Linked DNA regions of Homo sapiens: all the other regions are linked to region 1. Evidence: promoter capture Hi-C in 16 types of primary human blood cells and fetal thymus (Javierre and others, 2016). All regions are on one chromosome and are shown on one strand. Each heading gives the region's core, a stretch centred on a gene start or on the middle of the fragment in contact. The rest is flanking DNA. Distances are from core to core; before and after follow the strand shown. Region 1 holds the start of ATP13A2 (ATPase cation transporting 13A2). Region 2 holds the start of PADI6 (peptidyl arginine deiminase 6). Region 3 overlaps NBPF1 (NBPF member 1). Region 4 overlaps PADI3 (peptidyl arginine deiminase 3).

Region 1 (6,535 bases), core at 779-3,278:
GACGAGCTGCAGGTGCGGCTCCTTCCCAGCTGGCTCAGGGAATAGAGCCCCTTTAAGGCCAGGCAGCCTTAGCAATAAAAAGAATGAAGGGGGCACCCTTGCAAGGCAGTCCCCCATGCAGTCCCCAAGCCCTCTGCTTTTATTTATTTATTTATTTATTTATTTATTTATTTATTTATTTTAGAGGGAGTCTCAGTCTTTCACCCAGACTGGAGTACCTCTGCTTTTATGAAGCCGCTAATCCAGTGCCAGGATCTAAAGCAAGCAGCTGGCTTCTACCAAGTTCCTGCCATCTCATTTCATCCTCTCCATGCCTTCCATTTTGTAGGTGAGGGGAAGGAGAGCCTTAGAGAAGGAAAGTGACATTTTAAAGCTCACACAGCTAGAAAGCAACTCATGCATCCATGTCTTTCTGATGCCAGAACCCAGCCCCTTGCCACTGTACCATACTGCCTCTTGCCAAGGCCACCTGGGCTAGCCATTTCCAAACCCAGCCTTCCTGCTGCCCTGGAGGCTGGGTTCCTGCCAGAAATTGAGCTAAGCCCTGGGGGAGGACATGGGAGTTCTGAAAAGTTAAGCAGCCTGCCTCCCCTGGAAGTGTCACCGGAAGATGAAAGAACTCTTGTCACCTGACCCAAGGAAGCCAGTCCCATGGCCCAGGTGGTCAACAGGAATGACCCGCAACTGGTTGGCTCGGGCAGCCTGCCCCAGCTGAGTAAATGGCTCCACTGGCACCCAGCTGCTCAGGCCAAAACCCTGGGGAGCATCTTGAATTCCACACATTCCTGCACCCCCACATCCTATCCACCAGCAAGTCCTGCCAACGTGTGTTCCTGTACCAAATGTTCACTGGGATCTTGCTATGAATCAGGTGCTGCTTTCCCTCCTGGGGTCTATCCCCTACCCACACCCTCACCACCATCACAGCTGTGTCTCCTTCCAGCCCCTTCCACAATAGGGATCGTTGGAGTTTTCCTTTCCTTGACTAGGGCTACTTCCCAGTAGACAGCAGTCTCCGCAGGGACAGGGGCATCTCTGTTTTGTTCACTCTCACGTTCCTGGCTCCCACAGTGGTGCTGGCACTCCATAAATTCATACTGGACAAATGACCAGTGATCCTGCCCACGTCTATCCTTGGCCCTAACGTGAACCTTCCCTTGTTTGCCCTAGGATCTCACAGATCCACTCTCCCCTTTGGAGCTCCTCTGTCCAGAGGTCCTGGAGACAGGGAACACTATGCCTGTGCCGGTCACTATGGGGTAGCAGGATAAATGCTGCACGCAGGTAAGACATCTCTGGTGCCTTTCAGGGGTCTTCATGAATCCCCCCAGTGCAGGTGTGTCTGCAGGTCACGCTGTGAGGCTTCTCTTTCTCTGGCATTTCAAGGCCTCCAGTGCATCATGGCAGACTCTCCCTGGGTCTCTGTGGGCCCACATCTGACCCTGTGAATCTCTGGGCAGGTGTGTCTTCCTTCTTTGCATTCATCAAGCAGCGCCAGGCACTGTCTCAAGTGCTTGATACGCATTTTCTTTTTTTTTTTTTTTTGAGACAGAGTTTCGCTCTTTTTGCCCATGCTGGAGTGCAATGGCATGATCCCGGCTCACAGCAACCTCCGCCTCCTGGGTTCAAGCGATTCTCCTGGCTTAGTCTCCGAGTAGCTGGGATTACAGGCATGCGCCACCACGCCCAGTTGACAAGCATTTTCTTGTGTGATCCTCGCAGCAGTTCTCTGTGAAGCAGGCATTGCTATCCTACAGGTTGGGAAAAGAGGGCCAGAGAGGATCAGTGACTTGCTCACGGTCGCGCGGCCTGGAAGACATGGAGAGCTGGACCAGCACGCACAGTCCCTAACCACTGGGACGTGCTGGCGGGGGCTACCTCCGTGAGGTGTGTGTCTCCGGTCGCCCCGCCCCCGGTGTGTGCGGAGGAGCAGGCGGGGACTACAAGTCCCGGCAGCCCCGGCGCGGGCGCTGCGAGGGCCGCAGAGGGCCGGGCGGGGCTTGCGGCGCGCACGGAGGGACTGCGGCAGTGTCGGAGCCGCGCCGAGCCTGGTGGCCCAGGTGCCCCGCCCGCGTCAGCCCTGCTCCAGCCCCGCGCTAGCCCAGCGCCCCTCGCCCCGGGCCGTCCGGACCGCGCCCCCGCCCAGGGCCTTGCGCACGCCGGGGCCCAGGCCGAGGGCCGCAGCGCCGGGGCCGGCGATGAGCGCGAGGAGCCGGCATGAGCGCAGGTGAGTGCGGAGTCCGGGTCGGCCCCGAGCCCGGCGCGGTCCCCGGCCCGCCAGTTGTCGTCACCCCTTGGAGGGAGAGGGGAGGCGACGCCCCCCACCGCGGGGTCGCGAGCCCAGGAAGCGGGACCTGGTTGGGGATCCTGGCCCGTCCCCTCCCTTTTGACGGGGACTCGGCCCCGGTTTCTTCCCAGAGACGCCGGGGCTGGGGATGGCGCCGCCGCTCGCAGCCGGTCCCTCCCCTCCCCTGCACCCCTCAGCCGCGGGATTGGAAGCCGGGCGCTTGTGCAAGAGGGTCCTGGGGCCGTGCGGGGACGGGGAGGCCACCCCACGCCCACTTAATCGGATCCCACCCCGAGTGACGGATGTCCAGGTGGGGGAGACGGCTGCATCCTCGGGCCTCTGGGCAACCCCTCTGGGCTGAATGAATGAATGAATGGCGTTGGGGGAGTCGGGACTCCATTTCCTGGGTAGATGTCCTGGGCCACAGCGCCACTCCTGACCTCCTGCCTCAGACCCCAGAGAAAACCCGTCACACCCAGGGCCAAGGGCCACACCCTCCATGCAACCCATCCCTGGCCAGATGTCCTACGCCCACTCCTCCAGGGTCTAATTTAAATCCCACCTGCCGGGAATGGGGCCAGTCCTCCTCCCCTATCCAGAAAGGTCTCATCTCAGTGTCTGTCACTCAGCCCCCAGCCCCACAGCCTAGAGTGCACCCCCCGGCGAGGGAGGGGAAGGAATGAGGAAAGACAGCCCCTAGAATCCAGATCCAAAGATGGGAAGATGGTTCACACACACTCCCGCCTCAGCCTGGCAGAAGACAGGAGCTCCCCGCCGCCGGGAACCACAGCCAGGGAGGAGGCAGCCGCCCTGGGCCGCTGCCAGGTCACCAGCAGGAAGCCAAGGCTTCCGCAGGAAATAAGAGGTCCCAAATGGCTCTAGCCCCTCTGATCCACAGTGCTGGTGACACTGCCCCGAGCTGTGACCTCAGACGAGGTTCAAGTCCAGTCTTGGCCCCTCATAGCTGTGTGACTTTGTGCTTGTCAATCTACTCCTCTGGGCCTCGTTTTAAATGGGAATCCTAATCTGTACTTTTCATGGAATGGCTGTGGGAAAGAATGTGCCCATTCAGACACACTCATTTCCAGCTTCTCCCCTTTCAAGCTCTATGACCCTGGACAAGGGATTCACATGCTGTTCCTCAGTTTCCCCAGGTGTACAATGGGGATAATAATAGTCACTACCCCAGAGGGTTGTGTGTGAAGCTTCATTGAGTTAGCACACTGAAGGGCTTCCGCAGGGCATGGTGAGCACTCCATGGGAGCTGCTGTTCATCAGAAGAGCAATGACAGGCCAGGCGTGGTGGCTCACGCCTGTAATCCCAGCACTTTGGGAGCCTGAGGCAGGCGGATTACTTGAGGTCAGGAGTTCAAGACCAGTCTGGCCAACATGGGGAAACCCCGTCTCTACTAAAAATACAAAAATTAGCTGAGTGTGGTGGCATGTGCCTGTAGTCTCAGCTACTTCAGGAACTGAGGCAGGAGAATTGCTTGAACCTGGGAGGTGGAGGGTGCAGTGAGCTGAGATCTCTCCACTGCACTCCAGCCTGGGAGACGGGCAGGGGGGAAGGGGGGAACGGGGGGGGAAGACTCCATCTCAAAAAAAAGAGCAATGCCATCATGAAGGTGCTCTCGCCCCCCCACACAGCCTGTGGGTGCCTGTTCTGGGCTGGTCTGAGCCCACAGAAGCCCTGGGGAGACTGGGCTGTGGCTGGGGATAAACAGATGTACTGCAGGAGAGAGTGCCCTGGGCTTGATCCCTGCAGGGAGGGGCTCTGGAGGTTTCCACAGCTGTGACTTCCTCCCTCAAGTTCCACTCCCCTTTTCCTCTTTGCCAAGGTTGACTGAGAGAGTGTCATTGTGAAGTGACAGTCATACGATTGCCATGAGGAAGAACTTCCCAGGGGGACCGCTGTTTACATACTGGGGACTCTGCCCTCTTTTTGAAGAACCTTTTCTTCATAAAGAGTCTTGAGGCCGGGTGTGGTGGCTCACACCTGTAATCCCAGCACTTTGGGAGGCTGAGGTAGGAGGATCAGCATGAGGCCGGGAGTTCAAGATCAGCCTGGGCAACAAAATGAGACCCTGTCCCTACTAAAAAAAAATTAGCCTGGTGCAGTGGCACCTGCCTGTAGTGCCAGCTACTTGGGAGGCAGAGGCAAGAGTACCTCCTTTAGCCTAGGAGGTCAAGGCTCCAGTGAGCTAGGATCATGCCACTGTGCTCCAGCCTGGGTGACAGAGTGAGACCCTGTCTCTTTTAAAAAAAAAAAAAAAAAAAAAAAGGAAGAGGCTCAAGCCCCTCCCCCCAACTCCCAGCACCTTTGCCTTCAAGCTCTGTTGTGTCCAAGAGACAGACATTCATTCATTCAGTCAGTCGGTCAATCAGTGTTTCCTGACCCCTGAGCACATGGCAGGTACTGTGAGCAGTAAGGGCAGTGACACCCATCTGAGCCTGATGCTGAGGGGAATGTCAGGAGTAGATGTGCTGGGCAGAGAGGACCTGGGAGTAAGGCCAGCCCTGTTCCAGCTTTGAGACAAGTCTGAGGGCAACTGCCCCAGAGGCTCAGTGCTCTCGTTTGTCAAACTGGGTAAGAGAGCCCACCTTGTGGGTTGGTGCGGGAGGAAATCAAATCAGCACCGCAGGGATGGCTCCTTTCCCATCATCCCTGAGCCCGCTGGGCTGTTGGCCTGAGGGTTTTTTTTTTTTTTTTTGAGTCTTGCTCTGTCACCCTGGCTGGAGTGCAGTGGCGTGATCTCAGCTCACTGCAAGCTCCACCTTCTGGGTTCACACCATTCTCCCGCCTCAGCCTCCCAAGTAGCTGGGACTACAGGCGCCTGCCACCACGCCCGGCTAATTTGGTTTTTATATTTTTAGTAGAGACAGGGTTTCACCGTGTTAGCCAGGATGGTCTCAGCTAGTCTCCACCTCCTGACCTCGTGATCCGCCCCCCTTGGGCTCCCAAAGGGCTGGGATTACAGGCGTGAGCCACTGCGCACGGCCGGCCTGAGGGTTTTAAGGTACAAGGAGCAACTGTTGAATGGGCCTAGGGAGCCGTGGGACAGCCAGGGCTTCAGACAGGGTGATGTGAAAGGAGAAGAGAGCCTGGGAAATGGATAAGCAGAAGCCACGCCCCCCTGACCTGGGAGCCGGGTCCTGCCCACCTGTCCACGCAACCCCCCCAGGAACTTCAAATGCTTCTACCTCCCTGTGTGCTGGATGCTTCGGGACTATCATCCTAGAGATGAGAAATGGAAGCCCAGAGAGGCAAAGGCACTTGCTGTATGAAACACAGCATCAAAAAAGAAATTCTTAGGAACAAATGATGGGCAAAAAGACAAAACCCTGTCTCTACAAAAAAAATTAGCTGGGCATGGTGGCCTGTGCCTGTAGTCCCAGCTATTTGGAGGCTGAGGTGGGAGAATTGCTTGAGCCTGGGAGGTCAAGGCTGCAGTGAGCTATGATCGCAACACTGCACTCCAGCCTGGGTGACAGAGAGAGACTGTCTCAAAAAAAGACTTATACACGAAAACTGTAAGCTGGGCATGGTGGCTCACGCCTGTAATCCCAGCACTTTGGGAAGCCGAGGCTACAAGAGTGATAAGTAAATAAATGAATGAATGAATGAATGAAAGGACATCACAACCGAGGTTACCTGGCAGGGTTGATACGTTAGCCATGTACCCTGTGCACAGTGAGCCCTCTAGGAGTGTTGAAGCCAGAGTGCTTGGGGATGGGGCTGCTCAGAGGCTGGGGGTGCTGTGCCCACAGCAGCTGCCTGGGGCACTCTGGACTCTTTGGGTAGAAATTTTAGAAGGGCTCGCCGGGCGCTGTGGCTCACGCCTGTAATCCCAGCACTTTGGGAGGCCGAGGCGGGCGGATCACGAGGTCGGGAGATCGAGACCATCCTGGCTAACACGGTGAAACCCCATCTCTACTAAAAATACAAAAAATTAGCCGGGCGTGGTGGCGGGCGCCTGTAGTCCCAGCTACTTGGGAGGCTGAGGCAGGAGAATGGTGTGAACCCGGAAGGCAGAGCTTGCAGTGAGCCGAGATCGCGCCACTGCACTCCAGCCTGGGTGACAGAGCGAGACTCGCTCTCAAAAAAAAAAAAAAAAAAAGGAAAAATTTTAGAAGGGCTCAGATTGGGGGATGAAGGAGGGAGCCCAGAAAATCAGCAGCCTACCCCGCACCCGCCCAGCTTTTCCAGCTTAGTGAGCTTTTTCAGAGGCTCTTGTGAAACCACAGATG
Region 2 (6,285 bases), core at 2,017-4,516, 360 kb before region 1:
TTCGAGACCAGCCTGGCCAACATGGTGAAAACCTGTCTCTACTAAAAATATAAAAATTAGCCAGGCATGGTGGCACACACCTATAGTCCCAGCTAATCTGGAGGCTGAGGTAGGAGAATCACTTGAACCTGGGAGGCAGAGGTTACAGTGAGCCGAGATCATGCCACTGTACTCCAGCCTGAGTGACAGTAAGACTCATCTCAGAAAAAAAAGAAAAAAAAAGTAGATGTTATAGAGCTTGTTCCTGAGCTGATGGGGGTGATCTAGAGGGCGGGGAAGGGTGGCGGCTTCTTACATTGGTAAGAATTGACAAAGGAATGTTCTTGAATAAGAAAGGATCTAGTGAGACAAGAAAGACTAACTTTGGACCAGATGCGTCAATTAGTAACAAAGGAAGAAGGTAGGCACTAGACAGGCGTAGGTGGGTAGATGGCAGCGACACGGAAGTTCTGGCTGTTTCTATTCTCAGAATTAGGTTGGCAGTGCACGAAGATGGAGAAGTGACTGAGCGTCGAGGAGGGAGTGTGTGAGTGGGTATCTCAAATGAATCCATTTAGGAGTTTGTTCAGGAGTTCCTGGGGCCCACAGGAGGCATCTTGTTACCTGGAGAATCTTTTTTGGCTCCTCCTACAATCCCACCCCTTCCCCAACCCCAGCGGTGAGTTGGGCCCCAGGCTCCCAGTTGGAGCAACACTCACCAATGCCAGTGAGGTACAGCACAGCTGTGCCCACGGGGGCATCCTCGTTGGGCCCATAGTATGTGACCGAGACCTGTGGAGACAGCATCCCGAAACCATAGGCAGTGTTGGACGGGAGGTGCCAGGAACAGAGCCCCAGGCCATGTGCCGAGTCTAGGCGTGGGATCTTGGTCTTGTGTTATGGCTTCTGAAGTCTCACCTATGAGCTGGTATGGGGCCACAGCCCTGCGCTTAGGGCTGAGTCAGTCCCCTAAGGACTTAGAACCTGCCATGACCCCCAACCCTAACCTTGTCGAGAGCCAGGCTTGAAACCACCTGTCCACGTGAGAGCTGTATCCCTGATGGCGGGGTGATCAAGGGACTTATCCCAAAGGGATTTAAGAAACAGGCTGCCTGGCTCTAGAGCCCAAGCTTGAAACCACACTATACATCCTCCCTGCTAAACCCACTCTCCTGGGGTCCCATGTCCTACTCCATAAGGTGCACGGTGGGGAAACAGGCCTCTGGTGGCTTAAGCTGCTCACTAAGAAGGACACCCAGGTGAAGAAGCAGCGTTGGGACTCAGTCCCAACTGTGGGACTGTGTCCCACACCAGCCTCTACTTTATGCTTTTAGAAAGAGACCTGCCCTCCAGCCACTGACCCTGACCACAAGGTCTTGGTCATGAACCAGAGACCCAACCATTGGCCAGAGCATGTGACAGATCCACCCCATCCTTAAATAGAAGCTTTAGTCCTCTAAGTTCAAGGTTCTTTGTTGGCCACTCCTGAGGGTCCTGGAGGCCGAGCCCTGGGCAGAGAATGGTTCTCAGGTAGTCTGGAGTTCCACTGGCACCCACCGTGGCCTCCATTCTTATCTGAGATACCTTTTTTTGCGATGGAGTTTTGTTCTTGTTGCCCAGGCTGTAATGCAGTGGGACAATCTCAGCTTACTACAACCTCCACCTCCTGGGTTCAAGCGATTCTCCAGCCTCAGCCTCCTGAGAACCTGAGATTACAGGCACCTGCCACCACACCTGGCTAATTTTTGTATTTTTAGTAGAGACAGCGTTTCACCATGTTGGCCAGGCTGGTCTCAAACTCCCGACCTCAGGTGATCTGCCCATCTCAGCCTTCCAAAGTGCTGGGATTACAGGCATGAGCCACCACACCTGGCCAGAGACACTCAGTTCCTACCTAAGTCCACTACTTGCCTCTCAGGGAGTTGCCTGCCCTGGGCACACAGCGCAGGTGGGTGTGTGTACCTACCCCTCTGCAGCAGACATCTCCAGTAGGTCCTGTAGGGTGTGGGGGGAGGGAGGGAGAGCTCTCCCAGTCCTGAACTGCTCCATCATGGTTCTCACCCCCAGCCCCGCACTGGGTGCACCTGGAGAGCTTTAAACCAGCGGCCAGGATCCTAGCCCTGAGGTTCCATTGGTACCTCAGGTTTAATTGGTAGAGGGGGTGTGGCCTGGGTATTGATGTTATTAGCTCCCCAGTGGTTCTCACCTGCAACCAAGGTTGAACACTCCTGCCCTGAATGAGCCACCTGCTTCTACCACAGGAGAACCTCCCCAACATAGGCACCCCATTAGGGAGACAGCTTACCCAGGGGAGAATACACCCTTGGGCTCAAGCTCAAATCCTGGGTCTATCCCACTCTAGGTAGGCTACTTAGGTTTAGACACAGCACTCTGTGCCTTAGTTTCCTCATATGTAAAGTGATGGTAGGCCAGGTGTGGTGGCTCATGCCTGTAATCCCAGCACTTTGGGAGGTGGAGGCAGGTAGATCACTTGAAGTCAGGAGTTTGAGACCAGCCTGGCCAACATAGTGAAACCCTGTCTCATACTAAAAATACAAAATTAGCCGGGCATGGTGGTGGGTGCCTGTAGTCCCAGCTACTCGGGAAGCTGAGGCAGGAGAATTGCTTGAACCCGGGAAGTGGAGGTTGCAGTGAGCTGAGATTGTGCCATTGCACCCCAGTCTGGGCAATGAGCGTGAGACTCAAAAAAAAAAATAATAATAAATAAATGAAAATAAAAAATAAATCCCAGTCCTGCTGGTTGCTGACTTGGCAGGGCACCTTCGCTAGGTGCCTCTGTTTCTTTGTAAAATGGGGTCATGGAGTGCCCACACCACTGGTCTGTTGCAGACACTGGATGAGATCAGACGTGCAAAACAACGTGTTTCCCAGGCTCGAGTCACGTCTGCAGCCAGGAGGAAGCCCCAGTGGCTGTGCTAGGTCCCACCCCGGGAGATGCCCCTCACCTCTTCCCCTGAGGCTTACCTTATCCGCATCCACGGAAGGGCTGGGCGATGTCATCTTCACTGTGGCGTACGTGGGATCAGACAGGGGCCACCAGATGGTGGCGTCCTCCTTCTCAGAAATCACCGTGTTGGCCACATCGATCAAGACCCTCCCAGAGCCATGGATGGTGAAGCACTGGCACTTCTGGGGGGCACACCTGGTTTGCCCGGTAAGAGACACGCGTCAGGGCACAAACACCTTCTCAGCCTAGGAGATGACTGGCATGGGGGAGGGGACGGCTCCCGAATCCTCATTCTCCTTAGGGTGTTGAGGCAGAGTGGTCTGGGGTCCTTATTCCTACCCACCCCCTCCCAAAGGACCCCTGTGTTTGCTCTCCGACGGGCTCCAGCCCAAACCCCATCCCGCTACCGACACTGCAGAAGTTACCACAGCTACATCTTAGTAATAAGCACCCAATTCCCAAGAAGGGGGGAGCCACAAAGGATCCCCATAAAGAAAAAGATCAGGGCAAGCGACTCAGGAAGTTGTACTGTGACCCTGCTGAGTCACCTCCACCTGCAGGCTCCAGCATCTAGCAGTCTCCCTGGCCTGCTCCTCACAGCCCCCCGAGGCCAGCGTCCCCATGGTTTCACAGATAGGGGAACAGAGAGGCCAAGGCCCTTGCCTCACTAAGAGTCCATGGCAGCTGCTACAGGGCAGAGGCAGGATTTAAGTCAGAATTCTGCGTGGTTGGAACTGGGAGGCCCCCCACTAGAGACCCAAGGCTTCCCAAGATGGGGCAGGATAGTGAGGCTAGAGAAGTAACCCCCAACTCCCAGATCAAGGGGACTGGGTCCCAGGCCTGCCTGCCTGTCTGCCTGCCACCTCTGGCAGAGCTCCCAGCATCTCACCCGCTGAGATCCAAGCAGATTTCTGTGCCCAACACACAAACGGCATGGACAGGGCTGTCCAGGGACAGGTGGATGATACTCTGGAAGGACATGGCTCGGCCCTCCACGCTGACCATCCTCAGGCCTGCACCGCAGCCCTCACTCAGCACAGCAGCCTCAGACGCCCCAGGGCTCACCCTGCCCTTCCCTGTTATACAGTCCAGGCCTGTGCAGGCCACCCCCTTGTTAAGAAGGGGAGGGGTCAGCAGCTGCCCAGGTGTCACTGATTTTCCCTCTAAGAGCTTCCTGGTGGCTGATAGTCTGGGGAGCAGGTGGCATCAGAACCCCTTCATCACCAATTTATCAGGCACCTCGTGCCTGCAGAGCTGCAGGCCAGGGGAGTCTGAGGCCGGTTGCTTAGGCATCTGTGGCCTTCAGCTGGGAAGAGGAGGGGCTCTGGGAAGTCGGTGCCTTGGAGTGATCAACTTGGCCATGTTGCTGGAGGACTCAGCTGGAAGCTGTCGGGGCAAATACCTGCAGAGGGCAGTTGGGAGGAGTTGATGGTAGCAGTCAGGATGGCAATGTGTGGCAGCATGCCCAGGCTCTGGGGTCTCAGTTCTAGGGTGTGTGTCTCCTGGAAATTGACGAAGGAGCTCGGCAAAGTGCTGGACTGGTGGTTTGGTTTTGTTTTTGAGACAGGGTCTCTACCCATGCTAGAGTGCAGTGGCGCAATCATAGCTCACTGCAGCCTCAACCTACCTGGCTCCAGTGATCCATCTCAGCCTCCCAAGTAGCTGGGACTACAGGTGTGCACCACCATGTCCAGCTGATTTTTGTATTTTTTGTAGAGACCGGGTTTTGCCATGTTGCCCAGGCTAGTCTCGAACTTCTTGATCCCAGAAATCCTCCTATCTCGACCTGCCAAAGTGCTGGGATTACAGGCGTGAGCCACAGCGCCTGCCTAGACTAGGTGGTTATTAACCCTCTGGTGGTTTCAAAAATTATCAAGGGTGCTTGTTAACATTGCAAATTCCTGGGCCCAGAAGGTCTAGGGTGTGGTCCAGGAACCTGCATCCCAACCCCCAGTGATTAAGGTGAGCTCTTTGCTTACAGCTGTGTCGGTGGGGGTGGGGGCACAGCAAGTGTTAGTGGAATGAATACATCAAGCCAGGGTCATCAGCTGCTACTCATCTCAGCGGAGCCCACAGAGCAAAGAAATAGGAACCCTTCTCTGGCACAAGGAACTTACATAACTGACTTTAAAATTGTGTTCATTTCATGTCTTAAGCTTGGGTTGAGTTTTTTTTTGTTGTTGTTTTTGAGACAGGGTCTCACTCCGTTACCCAGGCTGGAGTGAAGTGGCGTGATCATGGTTCACAGCCTTGACCTCCCAGGCTCAAGTGGTCTTCCCACCTCAGCCTCCTGAGCAGCTGGGACTACAGATGTGCACCACCATGCCCAGCTAATGGTTTTACATTTTTCCGCAGAGATGGGGTCTTGTTATGTTGCCCAGGCTGGGTCATGCTTACTCCTGAATAGGTACCACAGTCACATGATTCCAAGTTCAGAGTCTCCCTCCTGCCCTGTGCCTTACCCACCTGCAGGTGGAGGTAGTGACAGTGTTACCCGTTTCTTATATGTCTTTCCAAATAAATGTTATGCATGACCAAGTAAATATGTGTGTGTATCCTTTTCTTCTTCTCTTCCTCCTCCAATACTAGCATACAGTTAGATAAATTTGAAGGGGCTTTATGGTGAGAAAGGGAAGGACGTGGAGTCTATTTTAAGGTTAAGGGAAAAAGGCTTCTGCAGGTTCCTTCGAGGTTACATCTCGAGACTAAAGAGAAAAGTTGTAAAATGTGCTCAAAGTTAAGCTGCTTGGTTACAATTACAAACTTTTCAGTTCAGTGGAGATGCCCCTGGAAGCCCATTGGGTTATCTTTTTTGAGGAAGGACAAGGAGGTCATTTAGTCATTTGCTCCACTAGAATTGCTGAACACCTACTATGTCCGGGGCGCTTTTGCTCTTTTCTTCTCTCCTCCTACTACTGTCTTCTTATATAAACGGTAGTATGTGCCACCCAGTATTCCATACCTTGCCTCTTTCACTTCATAGTTATACTGGAGAGAAGTTCTTTGTATCAGTACGTAAAAAGCAGCCTTACCCCTTTGTACAGCTGTGTATTTTACATAGGGTTGTACTGTAATATAAACATTTGTTTTCAGCCTTTGCTCTAATATGCACCCAGGTGTACCCAGCATAGGAGGTGGAGATGAGGTACTGAGTGAAGCCTGTTCGGTCAGCCAGGCTGGCTAAATTTGCAAGTTGCAGTAAAAAATTCCCTCCCTGGAGGTTTTAAGCACTCAACACAACTCTCAAGGATGTCTCTGTTTTAGTTGCTCTTGGAGGCAGGGGGTTGGTCAGCAAGACCCAAAATGCCCCTCTGGTTGGATTGAAAGTGGCAAAATTA
Region 3 (6,043 bases), core at 3,281-5,780, 400 kb after region 1:
ACGCCAAGGTGGGTAGATCACTTGAGCCCAGGATTTCCAGACCAGCCTGGGCAATGTGGCAAAACCCTTTCTCTACTAAAAATACAGAAGTTAGCTGTGTGTGGTGGCGTGTGCCTGTAGTCCCAGCTACCCGGTAGGCTGAGTTGGGAGGATCACCAGAGCCCGGGAGGTTGAGATTGCAGTGAGCCGTGATCATGGCAGTGCACTCCGACCTGGATGGCAGAGTGAGACCCTGTCTCAAAAAAAAAAAAAAAAAAGTAATGAATTTTTACCAAGTGAACCACCACAGATCAAGAAATTGAACATTACTAGTCTGGGGTATATTTGTAGGGGTGGCATTGTTGGTTTTAGAGGTATATGAATGATAAAACTTTAGTATTACATATTGTTGAACATTTTCCCAAAGTAGTTGTACCATTTAGCAGGGATATGCTGGTTACCCCACATCTTCGCTGATACCTGTCAGTTAAAAATTATTTTGCCATTCTAGTAGGGGTGCAGTAATATATCAGTGTGGTTTCATTGAGATTGAGTATCTTTTATTGCCATTTATATGTCCTCTTTTGTGACGTGCCTGTTAAATCTTTTTATCCAGTTTTCATTGATATGCTTGTTTTCCTGTTGATTTGTAATACTTTATTCTGGATATGCCTCCTTTCTAGGATTTATATGTATTGCATTTCCCTTTTTTCAATCTGTAGCTTGCGTTTTCACTCTTTTATGGTGTTTTTTCATGAAGGGAGATTCTCTTTTTTTTTTTTTCTTTTTGAGACAGGATCTCACTCCATCGCCCAGGCTGGAGTGCAGTGGCACAATCACAGCTCACTGCAACCTTGACCTCACAAGGCTCAGGTGATCCCCCTGCCTCAGCCCCCAAGTAGCTGGGACCTACAGGGGAGTACCACCACACTCAGCTGTTTTCTGTATTTTTAGTAGAGATGGGTTTTGCCACGTTGCATAGGCTGGTCTGGAATTCCTAGGCTCAAGTGATACACCTGCCTCGGCCTCCCAAAGGGTTGGGATTACAGGCATGAGCCACTGCACCCAGCCTGAGATTCTTCATTTTAATGAAATTATACTTTATTAATCTTTTCCTTTATGGTTACTGTTTTTTGTGTCCTGTTTAAGAAATCAATGCCTAACCTAAGAGTATGAACACATTTTTCTGTGTTAACCTTATAACGATTTTATTTTAGTTTTTGCTTTTTTTTTTTTTCAGACAGGGCCTCAGTCTATTATTGCCCAGGCTAGAGTGTGGTGGCAGGATCTCAGCTCACTCAACCTCCATCTCCTGGCTCAAGTGATCCTCCCACCTCAGCCTCCTGAGTAGCTGCGACTATAGGCATGTGCCACCATGCCTGGCTAATTTTCATATTTTTTGTAGAGATGGGGATTCAACATGTTTCCCAGGTTGGTCTCGAACTCCTGGGCTCAAGTAATCTGCCCGCTTCAGCCTCCCAGAGTGCTGGAATTACAGGTGTGAGCCACCCCACCTGGCTATGATTCACTTTTTACTACATGGATGTGTCTGCTTGATCCAGCACCATTTATTGAAAAGACCATCCTTTTCCTTCCGCACCATGTGGCACTTTTTTTCATAAATCGAATGACTGTATGGTCATCTGATTTATGAAATTAGTGTGGGTCTGTTTCTGTTTCTGGACCAACTTGGGTAACATAGTGAGATCCCATCTCTACAACAAATAAAAATAATAAATAAATGAATAAAATTTAAAAAATAAGTGCGTAGAGCAGATGGAGTCATAGGTGATAATTTATAAATGATTGCCAGTTTCTTGGCTACATATGGGTGTTGGTAATTCAGATGTGTTGGGTGTTCAGGCAAAACGTATTAAGTGAATTATATGGTGTTCAGAATGATTGCTAGATGTTCATTGTGACTTGAATTAGATGTTATTTGAGCCTCACAGAGCTACAGTTTTTACTCTTTTATTTATTTGTCTTTTTAAAATTTTTACAATCTTCCTGTCAAGGCAGTAACTCTTTTATACTTAATTGTTCTTAAGTATACTTAATTACCAGAAAAGCTTTATGGATCATACCTAAATAAGTGTTAAGCCATTTAAGGGGCTCACGTGCTGTGATATAAACAATAGTATTCTACATAATAGTTTTAGGACTACATCAAATAATTTTTTTTTTTTTCTTGAGACAGTGTCTCGCTCTGTCGCCCAGGCTGGAGTGCAGTGGTATGATCATGGCTCTCTGCAGCCTTGATCTCTCAGGCTCAAGCACTCCTCCCACCTCAGCCTCCTTAGTAGCTGGGTCTACAGGCATGCACCACTGTGCCCGGCTAATTTTCTCCTTTTTGTAGACAGGGTTTTCCTGTAGTGCCCAGACTGGTTTCAAACTCCTGGGCTGAAATGATCCTCCCACCTTGGCATCCCAAAGTGTTGGGATCACAGGCATGAGCCATCACACCTGGCCATTTTAGTTTTAATAATTTTTATATTTTTCTAATTTAAAAGATGTACTAAAATCTCTTACAGCTATTATTTATGAATATAGTATTCATTGTTGTTATTATGATGATTTTGTATGTGTTTAATCTGATTTTCAATATAAGCTCCTGGCAATTAGAGATTTTGTCTCTTTGATTCACCAGTGTATTCTCAGTACTTGACCTTGCCTGGCATGAAACAGATATTGAATAAATATTTCTTAAATGAATGAATGAATGAACATACTAATACCATATTCAACAACCTCCGAGTATCACAGTTTTCACCATCTAACAAATAAAGTAGCTTGTATAGAGTAGAGTCACAGTCAACCTGCCATAAAAGGACATGTCAATGAAAAATAAACCTTCGTATGTGTAGCTGCTAAGATTTTGGGGCTTTTGTTACCGTAGCATAACCTAGCGAAAGCTCAGAGAGACAGCATATACAATATACGTGTACAGATAGACCAGCTAGACCAGTAGATGAGATTCCAAAGCTACTTTAATAAGCATTAACTAACGACACCCACACTCTCTTAATTCCCTAACAGAAATAATGGAATTCTTGTTCACTAAGATCTGCCTCAAATATTACTTACTTTGTGAAAACTTCCCTGGCTACTCTAGTATTTAGTCAGGACTCTTTATTTTTTTCCCCCCAGGCTGGAGTACAGTGGTGCCATCATAGCTCACTAACCGCTAACTGAAGGCTCAAGGAATCCTCCTGCCTCAGCCTCCCAAGTAGCTGAGACTACAAGTGTGCACCACCATGCTCAGCTTATTTTTCCTTTTTTCTTTTCCCAGACGGGGTCTTACTATGTTGCCCAGGCTGGTCAGGACTGTTGATTACATATGACAGAAACCCAACCACCTCTAGTTCCCACCACCTTTCAATCTGCTCTTCCCTGGGTCTTCCCAGTCTCCGTAAATGGCAGCTCCATCCTTCAAGTTACCGAAGCCCTAAATCTCAACGTTAACCTTGATTTCTCTCTTTTATCTCACAGGCAATCTGAAGGCAAATCCTGTTTAGACCCAGGCGAAGGTTCCCGGTGACCCGGGCTCTCACCAGCCAATTGTCCCTTGCCGTCCTCCTGAGGGTGCCTGGAGCTTAAGCACTGTGTGCTCTTGGCCTCCACACTGGGGATGCCGCTGACTCCCACTGTCCAGGGCTTCCAGTGGATTCTCCGAGGCCCTGATGTAGAAACTTCCCCATTGGGTGCACCAAGAGCAGCCTCACATGGTGTGGGCTGACATCAAGAGCTGCCAGATCCAACAGGTAAAAATCCCGAGGCATTGCCAGCTCAGTGGGGTCAGAGAGTCCTCTTTGTATTATGACTCAGATGTGAAGGGAAGATGTCAAGGTCCCTAAACATTGCAGGGCCTTGCTTGGCATGCAACAGATATTAAATAAATATTTGTTAAATGAATGAACAAATATCCACAGCATGTGCTGCCCATGAGCTGCAGTGCCGTGGTCAGGTAGAAGTGATTTTACTTCAGGAGAGGACAGTGTTCTCTCCAGGACTTTTCCTTACTAGCTAGATCTGCATCCCTCTCCTCACTCTTCCCCTCTCACCCCCCATTCTCTGCCCCCATTTCTCTCTGTTTCCACCCTGCTGTCCCCTTTCACCTGCTTTCTGCTCTTCAGCTTTGGTGGCTCACCCCCTCCCTGTCCACCTGCATCCCCCAGGCTAAGGCTCCTACACTGTCCTGGGTGGGGAGATGTGTCTGGTTTTAGGCAGTGCCCTCTGGATGTGTCCAGGATGGGGAAACATGGCTCAGTTGCCAGTATAATGGGTTAAAAGTGGCCACTTTTGAAGGCCTTTCCCATCTCCCATTCCAGAATCCTGTAGACTTAGAATTTATGGGCCACAGTGGAATTCTTGGTTCCCCAGGACCTTGTGGTGGACGTCTTCTTTCACTGAGCATTCATGGGGTGACTGTGAGGTAGTAGGCCCTGCTCTGGGCTAGAGGCCCCACAATGAGTAAATCTCAGGTCACTACCCCATGGAACCCACTACTGCAGGCATTGAGAGGGGGAGAAAGAAAGGGGCATGGCCTGTTTGTGTTCTTCTCATGTGGTCACCCACAGGTCCTGGGGGAGTAGGAGCCAGTGCAAGGAGAGAAGTCCATTGAGAAAGGCAAATGGATGACATCAGACCCAGGGGCTGAGGTCCCCAACTGCAGCTGGGTAGCTTCTGGAGTGGACAAGGAGCAACAGGGAAGTTCGTGGCCTGGTGTTCTGGGATCCACTGTCTCATCTCATTCTTGTGGGCACCAGAACGTATCCAAAGACAAGACTCAGTGTCTCTGGCAACAGTGAGCCAGAGATAGAATGTGTTTCAGAGGAGGAGGAAGGGGTTGTTGTACCCCATGGAAACAGTATATTGTTTTACAGTAGCGTGTCTTTCTCTAATAACTACTTAGCGTGTTCCTGTTAATGGAAAATATTGGTGGTGTAAGTTTCCCCACTGTTCTCATCTTCATGTAAATTTGTTCATTTCCTTCCTTCCTTCCTTCCTTCCCTACTTCCCTCCAACTCTCTTTCTCTCTCTTTTTATTCTTTCCCTCCTTCCCACCCGCCCTCCATCCCTCCCTTCCTTCCTCCTTCCCTCCTTCCCTCCCTTCTTTCCTTTCTTCCTTTCTTCTTTTCTTCTTCTTTCTCTCTCATGCTCTCTCTTTTTCTTTCCTTTTCATTCTCTCTACTTTTTTGAAGAGATCACACTGTACTGAAACCTACATTATTTTCCAAAATCTCTGGATCTGCTTCTGTCTTGCAGGCAGAGAGCTCATCCAGTAGCCCTTAGCTCTTCCCAGCCCCCTCCTTTGATTTGTGGGTGCCACTGCGGCAGCTGCTGAGTCTCAGTGGTTTCTGGTCTTCACCAAGTTCTGCCCACCCAGATGGTTTTTACCTGTCCTCACCAGAAACCTGCACTGTCTAGATTGCTGAGGCTGCTTCTCCTTAACCGATCTGCTATCTGTATTCCAGGGGCACCCCAGGGTTAGAGGTAAATGGCACAGGCCTTGAAATCTCCAACTGCTCTGACTCCAGGTTGGTGCACTTCAATGCCAAGTACTAACCACACAATTACAGGATGCCACCAAAACCTTGATATGGGGCTGCTGCATCCTAATTAAAAAAACAGTTAATAGACATTATTTTTTAGAACAGTTCTAGGTTTACAGAAAACTTGAGTGGATAATACAGAGAGTTCTCCTAGGCTCCCCTGTCCTCCAGCACACAATTTTCCCTACTAGTATGTTGTATTAGTGTGGTCCATTCATTACAATTGATGAACCACTGTTGATACGTCATTATCAACTAAAGTCCATAGTTTACATTAGAGGTCATTCTTTGAGTTTCACAGATTATGGGTTTTGGCAATTACATAATGTCCTAAATCCCCAATACAGCATCATGCGAAAGAGTTTCACTGCTGAAAATTCCCTGTGCTTCACCATTTCACGCGTCCTCCTCTCCTCCACCCCTGACAACCACTCACCATTTTACTACTTCTATCTTTTTGACTTTCCAAGAATGTCCTAGAGTTGGAGTGGTACAGTATGTGGGTTTCCAGA
Region 4 (5,899 bases), core at 2,576-5,075, 260 kb before region 1:
CGTGGGCACCATAATTATCCCATGTGACAGATGAGGAAAATGAGGAACTAAGAGGTCTAATTATTTATCCAGTCCGGGCACGGTGGCTCACACCTATAATCCCAGCACTTTGGGAGGGTGAGGCGGGAGGATTGCTTGAGGCCAGGAGTTTGAGACAACCCTGGGCAACATGGCAAGACCCCATCTCTACAAAAAATTAGCTGAGCCTGGTGGCTGCACCTGTGGTCTCAGCTACTCGGGAGACTGAGGCAGAAGGATCACTTGAACCCAGGAGTTCCAGGCTGCCAGTGAGCTGTGATCATGCCATGGCACTCCAACCAGGGTGACAGAGAGACACTGTCTCCAAAAAGAAAAATAAATTCAAAATATATTAATTTAAAAAAATAAATAAAAATTAAAAAATATTTGTCCCAAAGCTCACAGCTAGTTAGTTGGTGGCACAGCCAGGCTCTAAACCCAGCCCATCGTGCCCCAGAGTCCTGCCCCAAACCCTCTCACTGGACTGACCTCCGGCCAAGAGGAAAGCTCCTTAACTTGGAATTCAAGGTCTCCGACCTCAACCCTTGCCTTTCTCAGAACCAGTGCCCTGACAGAGGAGAACACACAAGGTTCTCTCTCCTGCCTCCCACCCCCGGGCCTTTGCGCATGCTCGGTCTCTGCCAGGACCACCAACCTGTACAGCCTGGTGCTTGGCAGCCTGAGTCCTAGCACTGCCTTTACCAGCTCTGTGGCCCAGTCATGCTCCCCTAAGAGCTCCTGAATTATGGGGGACTTACAGGGGGTTATCAAGAAGATGAAATGATGCTATGCCTGGCCTGCAGAAAATGGGGCATAAATGGCAGAAGTCATGTGCCCTCATCTGCCAAATCTGGTCCAGCTCAGATGCTCTCCCTCCTGGAGGTCTTCACTGATTCCCTGGGCAGAGGTGATGCTGCATCCCCCAAACCCTACTGGTGCTTTGCTGGTATAGCCTCTGCACCCTAGATATTTCTTTTTCTCTCTCTCTCTCTCTCTTTTTTTTTTTTTTTTTTTGTTGTTGTTGCTGAGGCTGGAGTGCAGTGGCACAATCACAGCTCTCTGCAGCCTTGACCTTCCTAAACTCAGGTGATCCTCTGACCTCAGCCTCCAGAGTAGCTGGGACTACAGACACACGCCACCATGCCCTGCTAATTTTTTAACTTTTTTGCAGAGACAGGGTTTCACCATGTTGCCCCAGCTACACACTAGATAGTAGGAGTAGGTATTTTTGTAGCAATCATTCTGCACATCAAGGTTTCTCAGCCTCGACACTACTGAGGCGTGGGACTGGATGATATGTTATTGTGGGGGCTTGTCCTGCGCACTGTCTGCAGATACTGCAAAACGTCTCCTGGGGACACATCGCCTCTTGATGAGAACCACTGGTCTCAGCTGTTGAGGGCAGGGAGTGTGTGTCTCACACCTGTGCCACCCCTGTGGGCCTAGCCTAGTGCCTAGCCCAGATCCGGTGGGTGAATGGGTGTTGAATCCAGGATCAGCGTGGGTCTCCAGAAGGTTCTGGAGAGAAGCCTCTAGGTCTCACATTAGAAACGGCAGCAAGTTCCCTGGGGAGCACCCAGGTCCTCCTGGATGTTTCTCGGTGGCCCCCAAATGAAGGCCTCTCTCTCCAGGATGGCGTCCTTGCTGGGCCCTGCCCAGTGGCTGTGGTTACCTGGATCCAGCGGTCGTTGCGGTTCTCGGCCTGTGGGCAGATGGTCAGCTTGCAGCCGGCCTTCCTGGCCAGCTCTGCCACCGCATCCACAAAACACGTGTTGTTCCTCACACTACGGACAAGCCCAGGGAAGAGGGGCTCAGGATGGAGCCGGGGCCTGGGGGCCAGAGGGACCACCCACTGCCCCAAGACTCACCGGCACACATACACCTCTAGGGGTGGCAGAGTGCTGGGCGTCATGATCCAGGGTGCCACTCGGAACACCACAGTGTCAGTGAAGATAGGGGATGCCGAGAAATCCTGCAGGGGCAGACCAGGGGAGAAAGAGCACTGGACTTGGAGTCCAGAGGCCTGGGGGGACTCTGATTCCACCACTGTGGTCCATAAGAAAACCCCTTGCTTCTCTGCAAGATGGAAATGAACCAGAGGGGTGGTCAAGAAGTCTGGGGTCTTTCACACCAGTGGTGCCTGGTAGACTTACCAGGAATGGAGTCCTCCCCACTGCCCTTTATTATTATTATTTTTTGGAGACAGGGTCTTACTTTGTTGCCCAGGCTGTGGAGTGCAGTGGGGTGATCATGGCTCACTGCAACCTCAACCTCCCTGGGGTTCAGGTGATCCTCCCACCTCAGCCTCCCAAGTAACTGGGACTATAGGTGTACACCACTATACCTCGCTATTTTTTTTTTTTTTGTAGAGATGGGGTTTCACCATGTTGCCCAGGCTGGTCCCGAGTGGAGCTCCTCTTGAACCCCCTCTGTCCCTACCTCGTTGGAGTCGTCCAGCAGAGTGACATGGAAGGAGATGAGTCCTGTGAAGCCGGCATCAGGGAAGGACAGGCCTTCCACGAAGAAGCGCTCCTCATCCCCATGCAAGCGGGGTACCTCATAGGACACCTTATCTTGGCCCAGCACATGCCTATAGGCCTCACACACATCCTCAGGACCTGGAAGGGGAGGGACGGGGTGGCTGTGACTCCCTGTGGGCCCAGGGAGCATGAGTATGAGGGACACAGGAAGAGGTCTGCAGCCTCACCAAAAATTCCAAGTCCTCCAACAACTCCCTCCTTTCACCTCCACTGGCAAAGGAGAGGACAGGTAATACACAGTGGGGGCCACGGCTGGGGGAAAGGGTCTTCCTTTCTAAGACTGGCGCTCATACCTTTTTGGAGCACAATTTGGCAGCATCCAACAAAGTAATGTTTACCCCAAGCCCAGCAATTCCACTGCTAGGTATCTTTCCTACAAAAATACATCTACAGGCTGGGCACGGTGGCTCATGTCTGTAATCACAGCACTTTGGGAGACCGAAGGCGGTGGATCACCTGAAGTTAGGAGTTCAAGACCAGCCTGGCTAACATAGTGAAACCCTGTCTCTACTAAAAATACAAAAATTAGCCGGGCGGTGGTGGTGCACACCTATAATCCCAGCTACTCAGGAGGCTTAGGCAGGAGGATTGCTTGAACCCAGGAGGCGGAGGTTGCAGTGAGCCAAGATCACACCACTGCACTCCAGCCTGGGCATGGAGCGAGAATCCATCTCAAAAAAAACCAAAACCAACAAAAAACAAAACAACAACAACAAACAAACAATAATAGGTACAAAGTCACATAATATTTCTGTACAAGAGTGCTCGATATTCATTAATTCATCAAATATTTACTGTGCAACTACAGTGCACCCATGGGGCACGGTTCTGGACTTGAACAAAGCCCCTGACCTCAAGCAACCTGCATTGTTATAAAATCAAAACACTGCAAACCACTATGATGTTCAGAGAACTGTGTAAGTCACAGCACCTCTATGCTTAGGAATATTATACAGCAGTGGAAAAGAATGAAGTAGAGCTCAATAAATACCAGAAAAGGTGTGTGGGATTATTACTTAATGAAAGAAGCCGGTTGGAAAGCAGCATATGGACACACGCTGGAGAACATGTAGAATAAAGTTGGGAAGCACACATCCCAACTCGTTAACAGTGACAATCAGATTCAGGCCAGGTGCGGCGTCTCACGCCTATAATCCTAGTACTTTGAGAGGCCAAAGCGGGTGGATTGCTTGAGCCCAGGAGTTCACGACCAGCCTGGGCAGCATGGTGAAACCCTGTCTTTACAAAAAAAAAAAAATTAGCAGGGTGTGGTGGTACATGCCTGTAGTCCCAGCTACTCGTGAGGCTAAGGTGGAAGGATTGCTTGAGCCTGAAAGGTGGAGGCTGCAGTGAGCTGAGATCATGCCACTGCACTCCAGCCCGGGCAACAGAGCAAGACCTTGACTCAAAAAAAAAAAAAAAAAGTCAGATTTAGAGACGGGTAGAGAACTCTCAGGTTTCATTTTCTATACTTCCATATTGTCTGATTATTTAAAAAATAAGCGGCCAGGCACGGTGGCTCACGCCTATAATCCCAGCACTTTGGGAGGCCGAGGCGGGCAGATCACAAGGTCAGGAGATTGAGACCATCCTGGCTAAGACAATGAAACCCTGTCTCTACTAAAAATACAAAAAATTAGCTGGGTGTGGTGGCACATGCCTGCAGTCACAGCTACTTGGGAGGCTGAGGCAGGAGAATCGCCAGAACCCAGGAGGTGGAGGTTGCAGTGACCCGAGGTCACGCCACTGTACTCCAGCCTGAGCAACAGAGCGAGACTCTGTCTCAAAAAAAAAAAAAAAAAAAAAAAAAAAGCATCTTATTACTTGTATACATTTTTAGTTTCTCAAAGGCATTTAGATTTTTACTTGTATTTCTTGTGATTTTGGCAGACTATGTAAAACAACAGCCATCTATATTTGGGGGGAATACAAACTGAATTAATTGGGTGAAATCTATGGTGTTTGGGGTTGGTTTTACAAAACTTCAGCGAGACAGACAAAACAGTGATAATTGTTTAATCTGAGTGACAGGCACATGGGGATTCACAGCACTGCTTTTTGTGTATGTTTGAAATTTTTGATAAGAATTTCTACACATGCTTAAAATGTATTTGAAAAGGTCATTCATCAAATAAAATGACCTCAGGCCAGGTGTTGTGCTGGGGGCACCAGTTCATCAGTTCCAAAGCCCCCACTTCTGACTGTTCTTACTGCGACCCGCCACCCACCAGGGCATCTCCCGGAGTGTAAGCAGGACCTGCCCATGGCCCAAGGCAGGAACAGGAGGTTCCCTGGTAGGCAACCTGGCAACAGGGCACAGATGGCAAGGGGCAGTGGCACAAACTCACCGCAGATGTGGAAGACCTGTGCCCGTTTGGCATCATAGCTGGAGGTATGGAGGACAAGTTTGTGGTCATCAAAGAGGGCTGCAGGGCCCTGCGTCCGCAGGACCATGACAGACATGTCTTCCAGGTCTGTGAAGCCAGACAGAGTGGTAGTGACTCAAGGGAGTCCTGGCCCCTGGCCCCTTCCTCTGCTGCCCAGCTCCCTCCCCAGGTCAGTGGGTATCAAGACCTGGGTCTCCCAGCCCTAGCTTTGTGAAAACCCTGGAAGCCATCAAGAACAAACCATGAAGACATCTATGCTCTCCTGGACTCATGTTTCCTCAATTGCCCAGAGAAACATGAAGTGTGGCATAGCCAGCTGGTGTCTGACACACAACAGGTGCTCCAGAGAAGCAAGGAGGGTAAGGCCATGTGGGCGTCGTGCAGGTAAGGGTTCTGGCCTCCATCCCAGCATCACTCCCTGTGACCCTGGACAAGCCCCTCCCTTCTGGAGCCCCAGCATCCCCATGTCCAATGGTGCCCACTTCAGAAGGCAACCGTGGGCATCTCCCGTGGACAGCACCTAGCATACCCTGGAATATTGCAGCTCATTCTCCATGGGGCTGGAATTCAGGACAGATGGACTTAGCAAGAGGTGGGGGAGTCACAGAAATGTAGGCCAGAGGTGCTGAAGGAGGAGGCCCAGATTTGGGGTTGAGAGGGGAGGCCCCAGATCAGACACAGTCTTCAGGGAGTCTCCTGGCTTCTGAGTCTCAGCATCCTCATCTCTAAATTGGGGTGATGATATTGTCCCACTTGGATGATTCAATGAGAATTTGGGGAAAAGGCCTGGCACACAGTAGGTGCTCAAATAATGCTAGCATCCTCTGCTCCCCTGGAGGAAGAGAATGGCGAGGTGGCTCATTTCCAGAGCTTCTGCCCTGGCATGTGAGTGCTCACTGGCCCTAGAGACACTAGGGAGGGGCAGCTGCCAGCCTGAGATGGGTTTTGAGGAGC

The links. The method cuts DNA at HindIII sites, captures the fragments that hold promoters and counts their contacts. A CHiCAGO score of 5 or more calls a contact.
Region 2: a fragment that was not itself captured here is called in contact with the fragment with the promoter of ATP13A2 in region 1 in 1 of 17 cell types (neutrophils); the score reaches 6.2 in neutrophils.
Region 3: a fragment that was not itself captured here is called in contact with the fragment with the promoter of ATP13A2 in region 1 in 4 of 17 cell types (naive CD4 T cells, fetal thymus, non-activated CD4 T cells and 1 more); the score reaches 8.1 in naive CD4 T cells.
Region 4: a fragment that was not itself captured here is called in contact with the fragment with the promoter of ATP13A2 in region 1 in 1 of 17 cell types (neutrophils); the score reaches 5.4 in neutrophils.

The regions. Positions count from the first base shown.
Region 1 is chr1:17,007,421-17,013,955 of GRCh38, reverse strand. It overlaps ATP13A2 (ATPase cation transporting 13A2), which reads left to right and starts at 2,028. Exons shown (of 29, transcript NM_022089.4): 1 at 2,028-2,227. The coding sequence starts at 2,218. RefSeq lists a silencer at 1,864-2,393 and enhancers at 2,884-2,933, 3,697-3,776. The HindIII fragment of the contact is 3,526 bases long and covers 1-3,494 here.
Region 2 is chr1:17,369,913-17,376,197 of GRCh38, reverse strand. PADI6 (peptidyl arginine deiminase 6) reads right to left here and starts at 4,002. Exons shown (of 16, transcript NM_207421.4): 1 at 3,837-4,002; 2 at 2,965-3,142; 3 at 699-771. The coding sequence starts at 3,952. The HindIII fragment of the contact is 3,678 bases long and covers 1,428-5,105 here.
Region 3 is chr1:16,606,205-16,612,247 of GRCh38, reverse strand. It overlaps NBPF1 (NBPF member 1), which reads left to right. Exons shown (of 18, transcript NM_001405701.2): 2 at 3,469-3,740. Among named protein-coding and RNA genes, the nearest start is that of NBPF1, 4.3 kb to the left of the region's middle. RefSeq lists enhancers at 3,977-4,476, 4,477-4,978. The HindIII fragment of the contact is 4,959 bases long and covers 2,051-6,043 here.
Region 4 is chr1:17,266,970-17,272,868 of GRCh38, reverse strand. It overlaps PADI3 (peptidyl arginine deiminase 3), which reads right to left. Exons shown (of 16, transcript NM_016233.2): 6 at 4,907-5,032; 7 at 2,458-2,636; 8 at 1,887-1,990; 9 at 1,691-1,802. Among named protein-coding and RNA genes, the nearest start is that of MIR3972, 8.0 kb to the left of the region's middle. RefSeq lists a silencer at 1,929-2,172. The HindIII fragment of the contact is 9,501 bases long and covers 1-5,899 here.